Linked DNA regions of Homo sapiens: region 2 is linked to region 1. Evidence: promoter capture Hi-C in 16 types of primary human blood cells and fetal thymus (Javierre and others, 2016). All regions are on one chromosome and are shown on one strand. Each heading gives the region's core, a stretch centred on a gene start or on the middle of the fragment in contact. The rest is flanking DNA. Distances are from core to core; before and after follow the strand shown. Region 1 holds the start of RAMP2 (receptor activity modifying protein 2). Region 2 overlaps BECN1 (beclin 1).

Region 1 (4,348 bases), core at 1,073-3,572:
GCAAGGGACATGGAGAGGGGTGGTGAACCTAGTAAAGGAAGCCCCCACTGCTTTCTCCCTCAATTGTGAGGGCCTTAGGAATGGATTCCTGTTGCTCAGTCAGGGTTCCTCTTCCCAGGCCCTGTGAGTAAACTGAAGCATGAAGAAGAGGAATAGTCAGGGCTCCTGGGCAGCCTCCTGCTCCTCTTGCAGGAGTCACAAGCAGAGATTCCTCCCTTGCCCCTTCCCCCACACCTCCCCAGTTGCAGGCCCCCAGCTGCTGTCCAGACCGGAAGGGAGTCTCTTCCTGCTTGTTTCCTGGAGCCGAGTTTGGATATAGGCAGGAAAGGCCCGCCTGGGAGGAAAGAATATAGGGGTGTGACCTTCATGGAGGCAGGGAGCAGGGGGGCAGGTGAAATGAACAGAACAATGGGCCATCCAGATTTTTCCAGTTCTACTACCCAGGGCTGAGGGCCTGTGGCAGTGGCAGGGAAGGACACAGGTTCCACTGAAATGGGGAGAAGGACATTGTACAAAAAAAAAGTTTTATTTTGAAGATTACAGAACTTGTGCCATGACCCCACCTGGCTTCCATTCCCAGCAATCCAGGGATCTGTGGTGGGGATGAGAGTGAGAAAAGGGAGTAGGAGGGGAGGAGGGAGGCCTGGTGGGGGTGGGGAAGTGGAGTAACATGGTTGTTGAGAAGCTCGTGGCCCCCTAGGCCTGGGCCTCACTGTCTTTACTCCTCCATACTACAAGAGTGATGAGGAAGGGGATGAGGCAGATGGGGGCTATGATCATGGCCAGGAGTACATCCTCTGGGGGGTCAGAGAAGGTGGGCTGCACCAGGGAGCAGTTGGCAAAGTGGATCTGGTGAGTCTCAAAGATGATCCTCTCTGCCAAGGGATTGGGGAAGCCCAGGTCAAACAACTCTGCAAAGTGCTCCAGGCAATCTCGCAGGGTGCTATAAGGCCTAGGGGCAGAAGAGGACTTGAGTGAGAGAGGGGGTGGACCCAGGGAGAAGAGTGCCCCACTCTCACTCAGGGTCTACCTGCAATGAGCAGGTCCACCCCCTGGCCTGAGCCACCCTCCATCACTGCCCCTACCTGCTAATCATGGCCCAGTCGCACCAATCCTTTTCGATAGGATCCATTTGATCCTTATAATGATTCCAGCAAAATTGGACAGCTGTCTCATAGTTCTTCACCGTCCCCCCTGTAGGTACAGATGCTACACAATGACCACACCCCTACCCCTCCCTACAAACCCTCCTGCCCAGGTGCTTGCAAGGTGAACTGCCTGTCTTCAAACGTGGGAACCCTTCAGAAAGTTTCCCTAGCAAAACATTCTGGCTGAGGACAGAGTCCCAGCTCAGGAATCCTATAATGACTTCCATGTGCTAAGCACTTTCCATCCCAGCCTGATAAGAACTTCCACGTACACCTTTTCCTGGGGTCTTCTCGCCCACTTGTGAGGTGGGCAGCTCAGAGCCGTGCAGGGGCTTTGTAGGAGGACAGGGAGAAAGACCACGAGGAACCCCAAGAAAGAACAGAGGGGAGTGTAGTGGGGCATCAGCTGGGGTTGGGCAGGCCTCGTGGGAAAGGAACCCTCCCCACTGAACTTGCTCTCGTCCTTACCCTCGGCCACCCTTCCACACCCTGGGTACCCACCTTCTGACCCTGGTGTGCCTGTGGTGGGAAGAGGCTGAGCCAGGGCCTCGTGGGGATTCAGGACAGCTGTGGGAAGAAACGGGAGAGGAGGGTAACATAGCGGGGACCCCGGCAGTGGAGCCTGCGAGGGGGGTTGGGGGACTGAGACCCTCCGAAAATAGGCTACCTTGGAAGAAAAGGAGGAATAATCTAGCCCCCACGGACGCCTCAGTGCCGGGGAGGGAGGGGCTGGCACCAGCTCCTTGTCACTCACACCCAGGCCCAAAGCCCCCTCATCTCTGGCCAGCTTCCGTCCTCCTAAGCCCTCTTCGAGGGGCCGGGGCCAGCACCCCAGCTTTCCCTGGGTGGGAAGCAGCTCATGCTGCGCCCGCCCCGAGGTGGGGTCAGGGACCGTCCGAGGGCCAGTGCTGCTAGGTACGTCGGTCCTAACCCGCACCCCAGGGCCCGTTCCGGCCTCGGCCATCCAGCCCCTCTCCCCTCTCCCCTCTCCCCTCCGGGGCCTCTCGCGCCTCCCGCCCGGGCCTCGGGGCGCCGCGCTCACCGCCCAGCAGGAGGAGGAGGCGGAGCGCTGCCGGCCGCCCGACTCGGGTCCTAGGGAGACGCGGGCCGCCGGCGCGCTCCACCCGGAGCGAGGCCATCGTGCAGCAAGGAGGCGAGGAGCGGCGGCGGCGCTGAGCCGGGCCCGGGTGTGGGGGCGCCTATATCCCCAGCCCAAGCTGCAGGAAGCCGCGCCGCTTCCTCGGAGGGGCTGGGACGGCGGCGGCCACGTGGGGGGCGGGGGCGACGCTCGGGGCCCGCGGCTGGAGGGGGAGTCGCTGCCTCACCCGCGCCTGGCGCCCGCGGCTCCCTCCGCCTCGCCGGCGTTGGCCCACCCTCTCGTAGCTCACCCCGCGAGGCTGGACAGCTCCCGGAACCCCGGAACCGGGATCTATTTCGGGGGCTCGGCTGCGTGGCGCCCAGGACTCTCCAGGGTCTCCCAGGATCGCTCCCCGAATTCGAGTCGCCCCCTCTCTCTTTCGGGTCTGGAGGGGTCGGCAAGCTGCTCTCCCAGACGTGGAGAAGAGGGAGGGGGCTGGGAGCTCCAGCGGCCTCTCGACGCCGCTGCTTCTAAGGGGCTGTCCTGGGTTGTGGGGGAAGGGGCGCCTGGAGCTGAGCCATGCAGCTCAGGGTTCCTTATCCTATCCCTAGGAATACCAGCTGATGTCAGTCCGCCAGCCAAAACCAGGGAGGAGAAGCGGGAGCCAGCCCTCTGGAGTCGGGAGAAGGTCTGGGGAGTGGGGTAGAGGGGAAAGCAAAGTCCAAATACCTTCCCTTCAGACACCTCCTGGGGCCTAGACCCCACAAACCTGTTGTGGGGAGGGCAAAATACGATGACTACGTTCCCAGGAAGAAGGTGCCACAGCTCTTCAGGACCACGGTTGGGAGAAAGAATGGAGGGGTTTTAGAACCTTCAGTGTGCGACTTCATGTGCCAGGTGAGTGTAACACCATTTTACAGACCGAGAAGCTAAAGCTCAGGGCCAACAGCCCGGGATTTGAATTCAGAAGCTCTGGGTTCTAATTCTGTCTTCTTACTCCCCAGCTATAGAGCCTTGAATGACACGTTTACCTTCAGGACTTCTCATGTGAAATAGGGACATTCCCCTCCTCACTGTATGATGGCAGCTGTGAAAGGGCACTGCACTCGCTAAATGCTAGTTTCCTTTCCTCTTTTCCTAAGTGACTTATCTAAGGTCACACTGTTAAGGAAGCAGCAAGGCTGAGTCTGGGCCTCCGGGGGTCCTGACTTCAGCCACACCACAGCTGCTTCTTGTGTCCTGGGCCAGAGGTTCATTAGTCTGAAGCAGCTGAGGAGCCCAGGAGCTGGTTTGGCCATGACGTTCAAGTCCCAGACACAGCTGTCAGCACCAAACTTTCCTAAATTACTCCCAGACACTGACCCTTGGACTCAGCTGCTGCTGTTGTCCCAGTTTACTGATTCCTGCCCACCACAAATTATCTGTCCTGATCTCTCCTGAAGTCTTCATCTCAGGATCTCAAGCTCTTGGATCATGGGCACGGATAACCTGTTGTCCTCCTCTATGGTCAAGAGGCTGCTTTTGCAAAGAATCCAGTGGGAGAGAGTCAATGGCCTGCTTGACGTGAACTCCAAAGTCCTCCTGGTAAGGATCATTTCTACAATGATGCAGAAAAGAGCCATGCAGTCTCTGAGACATTTCAGGCTGGGACCAAATCTAGTCCTTCCTGCCTGCCTAGGATTGCTCCTTTCAAGAAGGAAGCATGGGAGATTTCTGAGTGATAAGATGGGAGGAAGGAGCAAGGAGGTGCAGAAAGCAAAACAAGCCATTTTCACTGGGTTGGGGCCAGAAGCACATGAGCCCACTATGGGTTAGGACTGGGGTTGGGGTCAAGATTAAAGGGGACAAAAGCAAATGTTAGATTTAAAATAGAGCCTGGGCAACATAGTGAAACCCTGTCTCTACAAAAAAAAAACTATAAAAAAATTTTTAAAAAATTAGCCTGGCATAGTGGTGTGCACCTGTAGTCCCAGCTACTCGGGAGGCTGAGGCAGGAGGATCACTTGAGCCCCAGAGGTTGAGGCTGCAGAGAGCTGTGATTGTGCCCTATCTCAAAAAAAAAAAAAAAGGACAATATGGCATAATGATAATGGATAATCATAACGGATGAAAGAAAAAAACT
Region 2 (4,648 bases), core at 1-2,500, 56 kb before region 1:
GTGCCAACAGCTTCACTCTGATTGGGGAGGCATCTGATGGCGGCACCATGGAGAACCTCAGCCGAAGACTGAAGGCAAGTCGGCCCCATTCCGGTGGCAAGCAGTAGGCCTGGCTGGGAGAGTGGGTAATTGAGCAGGAAGCATGGGGGAGGCCCTACCCTGACTCTCCCACACTTCCAGGTCACTGGGGACCTTTTTGACATCATGTCGGGCCAGACAGATGTGGATCACCCACTCTGTGAGGAATGCACAGATACTCTTTTAGACCAGCTGGACACTCAGCTCAACGTCACTGAAAATGAGTGTCAGAACTACAAGTGAGTGTCTCCAGAGCCAGGGCTCAGAGCTGTTACTGCTCTGAGACTGCTTGGCCCTTACCCAAGAGCCGTACTCCACTCAGGCAAATGGAGCTCTAGTAAGTATAGTCTGCCTGTGTCTTTGGCAGACGCTGTTTGGAGATCTTAGAGCAAATGAATGAGGATGACAGTGAACAGTTACAGATGGAGCTAAAGGAGCTGGCACTAGAGGAGGAGAGGCTGATCCAGGAGCTGGAAGACGTGGAAAAGAACCGCAAGATAGTGGCAGAAAATCTCGAGAAGGTCCAGGCTGAGGCTGAGAGACTGGATCAGGAGGAAGCTCAGTGAGTGCTCACCCTGTTCTATCTTCTCACACTCGAGGCTCCAGGAGAGGAAATGGCTTCCAGCTGAATGTGTCTGAATAGTTTGTAAACTAGTCAGCTGTCAGTCAGCAGCATGCCTGCCCCAGATCCTGCATATTGCTTCCATGCCCTTTTTCTAGAGGTTTGTTGGGAGAGTTACCTATGAAGAGTCAGCATGATTAAGTGAAAAAAGTATGTTGGTTAAATAGTGCAGAAACCAGAGCTCCAGTCTTGGCTCTGTCCTGTAGGGAATGGGCTCATTTGGATGAATCAGCCACTTTCTAGCCATCCTTAGCTGAAAAGATGAGCTAATTAGCCTACATTTGTTCCCTCCAAGCTTAAACATTTCATGGGGGCCAGGTATGGTCGTTCATATCTGTAATTCCAGCACTTTGGGAGGCCAAGGCAGAAGGATCACTTAAAGCCAGGATTTAAGGCCATCTGGGGCAATATCAAGTGAGACCCCATCTCTACAAAAATGAAAATTAAAAAAAAATTAGGCTGCTGTGGTAGACCTGTAGTCCTAGCAACTACTTAGGAGGCTGAAGTGGAGGATAACTTGAGCCCAGGAGTTTGAGGTTACAGTGTGCTGTGATCACACCTCTGCACTCCAGCTTGGGCAACAGAGTTGAGACCCTGTCTCAAAAAATAAAAACATTATAGATGTCCTTGACCTGAGAGAACCCTCTCTCTAGTGGAGGACACACAGTGTCCATACTAACTGAAGTTGTGGAAATGAAGGATAGAGAAAAGTCCATTTTTTTCACACAGTAGTATAACAAGTTTCACTGGAAGTGGGGTATAGTAACTATTTAAAGGACAGTAAGTGTATAGAAATGAAGCTTTAGAAGGCCAATTATGGCCAGTTCATGGAAGAAGCCACTGTTTTTTTGTTTTTTTTTTTTTTAGAAACAGAGTCTTACTCTGTCATCCAGGCTGGAGTGCAGTGGTGCAGTCATGACTCACTGCGGCCTTGACTTCCTACACCTAAGCAATCCTCCCGCCTCAGCCTCCCAAGTAGCTGGAACTACAGGCGCGCAACACCATACCTGGCTAATTTTTGTATTTTTTATAGAGATGGAGTTTCCCCATGTTGCCCAGGCTGGTCTTGAACTCTTGAGCTCAAGTGATCCACCTGCCTCAGCCTCCCAAAGTGCTGGGTTTACAGGCATAAGCCACCATGGCCAGCTGGAAAAAGCCACTGTTTTTTGTTTTTGATTTTGGTTTTTTTTTGAGACAGAGTCTCACTCTGTTGCCTAGGCTGGAGTGCAGTGGCATGATCTCAGTTGTCTGCAACCTCCACCTCCCAGGTTCAAGCGATTCTCCTACCTCAGCCTCCCAAGTAGCTGGGACTACAGGCGTGCGCCACCACGCCTGGCTAATTTTATTTTTTTAGTAGAGACGGAATTTCACCATGTTGGCCAGGCTGGCATCTAACTCCTGACCTCAGGTGATCTGCCCACCTCAGCCTCCCAAAGTGCTGGGATTACAGGTGTGAGCCACTGCACCCGGCCCAGAAGAAGCAGAAGCCACTCTTTTTTTTTTTTTTTTTTGAGACAGAGTCTCGGCTCTGTTGCCCAGTCTGGAGTACAGTGGTGTGATAGCTCACTGCAACCTCTGCCTCCTGGGTTGAAGCAATTCTGCCACTTCAGCCTCCCAAGTAGCTGGGACTACAGGTGTGCACCACCACGCCTGGCTAATTTTTGTATTTTTAGTAGAGACAGGGTTTCACCACATTGGCCGGACTGCTCTCGAACTCCTGACCTCAAGTTATCCACCCGTCTTGGCCTCCCAAAGTGCTGGGATTACAGGTGTGAGCCACCACGCCTGGCCCCAAGAAGCCACTCCTAACCCATTCACCTCACTTCTGAAAAAGATCAGAAATAAGAGGTTTTTTGCCCTGGTTTGGGAGAATTCTTTTTTCCTCCACCTTTTTGCATATGGGCAGCTGGAATTTGAGACATTTCTGTTCCTTCCAGGCAAAACAGCTAGGACATACATGTTCCTCAGAATGGGATCTATGCCAAATATAAAAGATGCGAGAGCTAGATGTAACGATGATCACTAAAGAATCGTTCATAGTGTGGTGAGAGAGAAACTTTAGCCCCCAAGCTAACAGCCTTCAATGGCCCCCTTGGCTGCTCACAGGTATCAGAGAGAATACAGTGAATTTAAACGACAGCAGCTGGAGCTGGATGATGAGCTGAAGAGTGTTGAAAACCAGATGCGTTATGCCCAGACGCAGCTGGATAAGCTGAAGAAAACCAACGTCTTTAATGCAACCTTCCACATCTGGTAATGAGAGCTAGGGGATGAGGAGCACTGCACATATCTAGACCTTAGCTGTTGACCACTAAGCCTGGGTGCCCACTTCCCACAAAAGAGGGACTGTAGGTTATCTTCACCCAACTAGGTTTCTTTCATTCATAGTGATGGGATAGGCACAGTAGGGATTGGAATTCTAGAGCTTGGTGACATCCGCCCTTCTAAAGAAAGGAAAAGGCCTGAGCCCTTCAGCCACTTAAAAACCTGGTAAGCTGTCTGGTGCTGATTTCTTATCCCCACGGTGTTTGATGTTCCATTAATTTAATAACTGTTGAGTGTCTACTCTGGAAAAGGCACTGTGCTGAGTGCTAGGAGGGCAACAGCAAAACAGTATGCAGTCAACCTTCTAGTTGCATATAATCTGGTGGAAGAGATGGATAAATAACAAGCAGTTGTAATGCAGTGTGATGATGGTAAACCCAGGGTGCTGTGGGAACACATAAGGGCACTTGATCCAGTTTGGGGAGGCCATATGGAGAGTTTCCCCATAGGGGACTTACGTTTAAACTGAGAGGTAAAGTAGAAGTCTGCAGAGAGGGGGTTGTTCCTAGCAGAGAGAACATTATGTGCAAAGAAATGGGAAAGAGGGAGTGGTGAATTCAGAGAACAGAAAGGAGCTTATTGTGACTGAAGATTGAGTGTAAAGGGGAGAGTGGCCGGATATGAAACTGGAGAGTTACCAGTTCCTGAAGGATCTCGTAGGCCTCGTTAAGAGGTTTGGACTTCATCCAAAAGGCAGAGGAGACACTGAAGCATTTTAGCTAGGGAAGTGACGTAATTACACTTGTATTCGTGAATGATGGCTTTTCCTGCACCATGGGGAATGACTTGGGGTAAAGGGGTGGAATCGTTGGAAAGGATACTCATCAGTAGGAATCTAAAGGAAAAGAATAGTAGCATTGAATTTGGAGAAAAGTGGAAAGATCCAAGATATTTAGCAGGTAGAATCAGGAGAGGTTGGCAGTTTTGCACGGAAGGAGCTGAGGGAGCATTCAAGGATACCACCCAGGTTTCTGCTTTGGCATCTGAGCAGCAGGGAAAAAGATGATGACTCAAGTTTTGGACATGTATTTAAAGTGCCAAGTACAGCTTGCATATATGGACTTGAAGATAGATTTAAGCTAGGTTTGGGGTGAGAGTGGGAAATGTCAAACTTTTTAAGTAATCCCTGTATTTCCCCCCACCTTTCTGCCTTCCTCTGTAGGCACAGTGGACAGTTTGGCACAATCAATAACTTCAGGCTGGGTCGCCTGCCCAGTGTTCCCGTGGAATGGAATGAGATTAATGCTGCTTGGGGCCAGACTGTGTTGCTGCTCCATGCTCTGGCCAATAAGATGGGTCTGAAATTTCAGAGGTAGGAAGTGTAGCCCTTTCTTGGGGAGTGATGTGCATTGATATAATTTGTATCTCCAACCTGGTACTGCTGTCCACCATGTCAGGAGCCCTTGCTGCCCACAGACTGGGAGTTTTCTGTGGCTGAAGAGCTGTCAGCATCTGATTTTCCCCTCATCACAGGGCTCTCTCCACTGATCACACAGTCACTGAGTTGCGTGACTATAGCATAGTTCCCAGCCTACAGTCCCCAGAGCCTTAGTGTTCCTCAGGATATTTTCAGTTTTTGTTTCTTAAATTTAAACCAAAACATAACATTTGTTCATGGAAGGC

What was found. Contacts are between HindIII fragments. The CHiCAGO score rates a contact against its expected background, and 5 or more counts as called.
Region 2: a fragment that was not itself captured here is called in contact with the fragment with the promoter of RAMP2 in region 1 in 1 of 17 cell types (endothelial precursors); the score reaches 6.6 in endothelial precursors.

The regions. Positions count from the first base shown.
Region 1 is chr17:42,759,201-42,763,548 of GRCh38, reverse strand. RAMP2 (receptor activity modifying protein 2) reads right to left here and starts at 2,322. Exons shown (of 4, transcript NM_005854.3): 1 at 2,191-2,322; 2 at 1,650-1,715; 3 at 1,086-1,194; 4 at 508-952. The coding sequence starts at 2,287. The coding sequence ends at 697. It overlaps RAMP2-AS1 (RAMP2 antisense RNA 1), which reads left to right and starts at 2,292. Exons shown (of 6, transcript NR_024462.1): 1 at 2,292-2,669; 2 at 2,838-2,914; 3 at 3,036-3,123; 4 at 3,669-3,810. RefSeq lists a silencer at 2,119-2,208. The HindIII fragment of the contact is 18,952 bases long and covers 1-4,348 here.
Region 2 is chr17:42,814,213-42,818,860 of GRCh38, reverse strand. BECN1 (beclin 1) reads left to right here. Exons shown (of 12, transcript NM_001313998.2): 5 at 1-74; 6 at 181-317; 7 at 446-640; 8 at 2,807-2,953; 9 at 4,188-4,337. Among named protein-coding and RNA genes, the nearest start is that of MIR6781, 7.4 kb to the left of the region's middle. RefSeq lists an enhancer at 1-1,081. The HindIII fragment of the contact is 505 bases long and covers 998-1,502 here.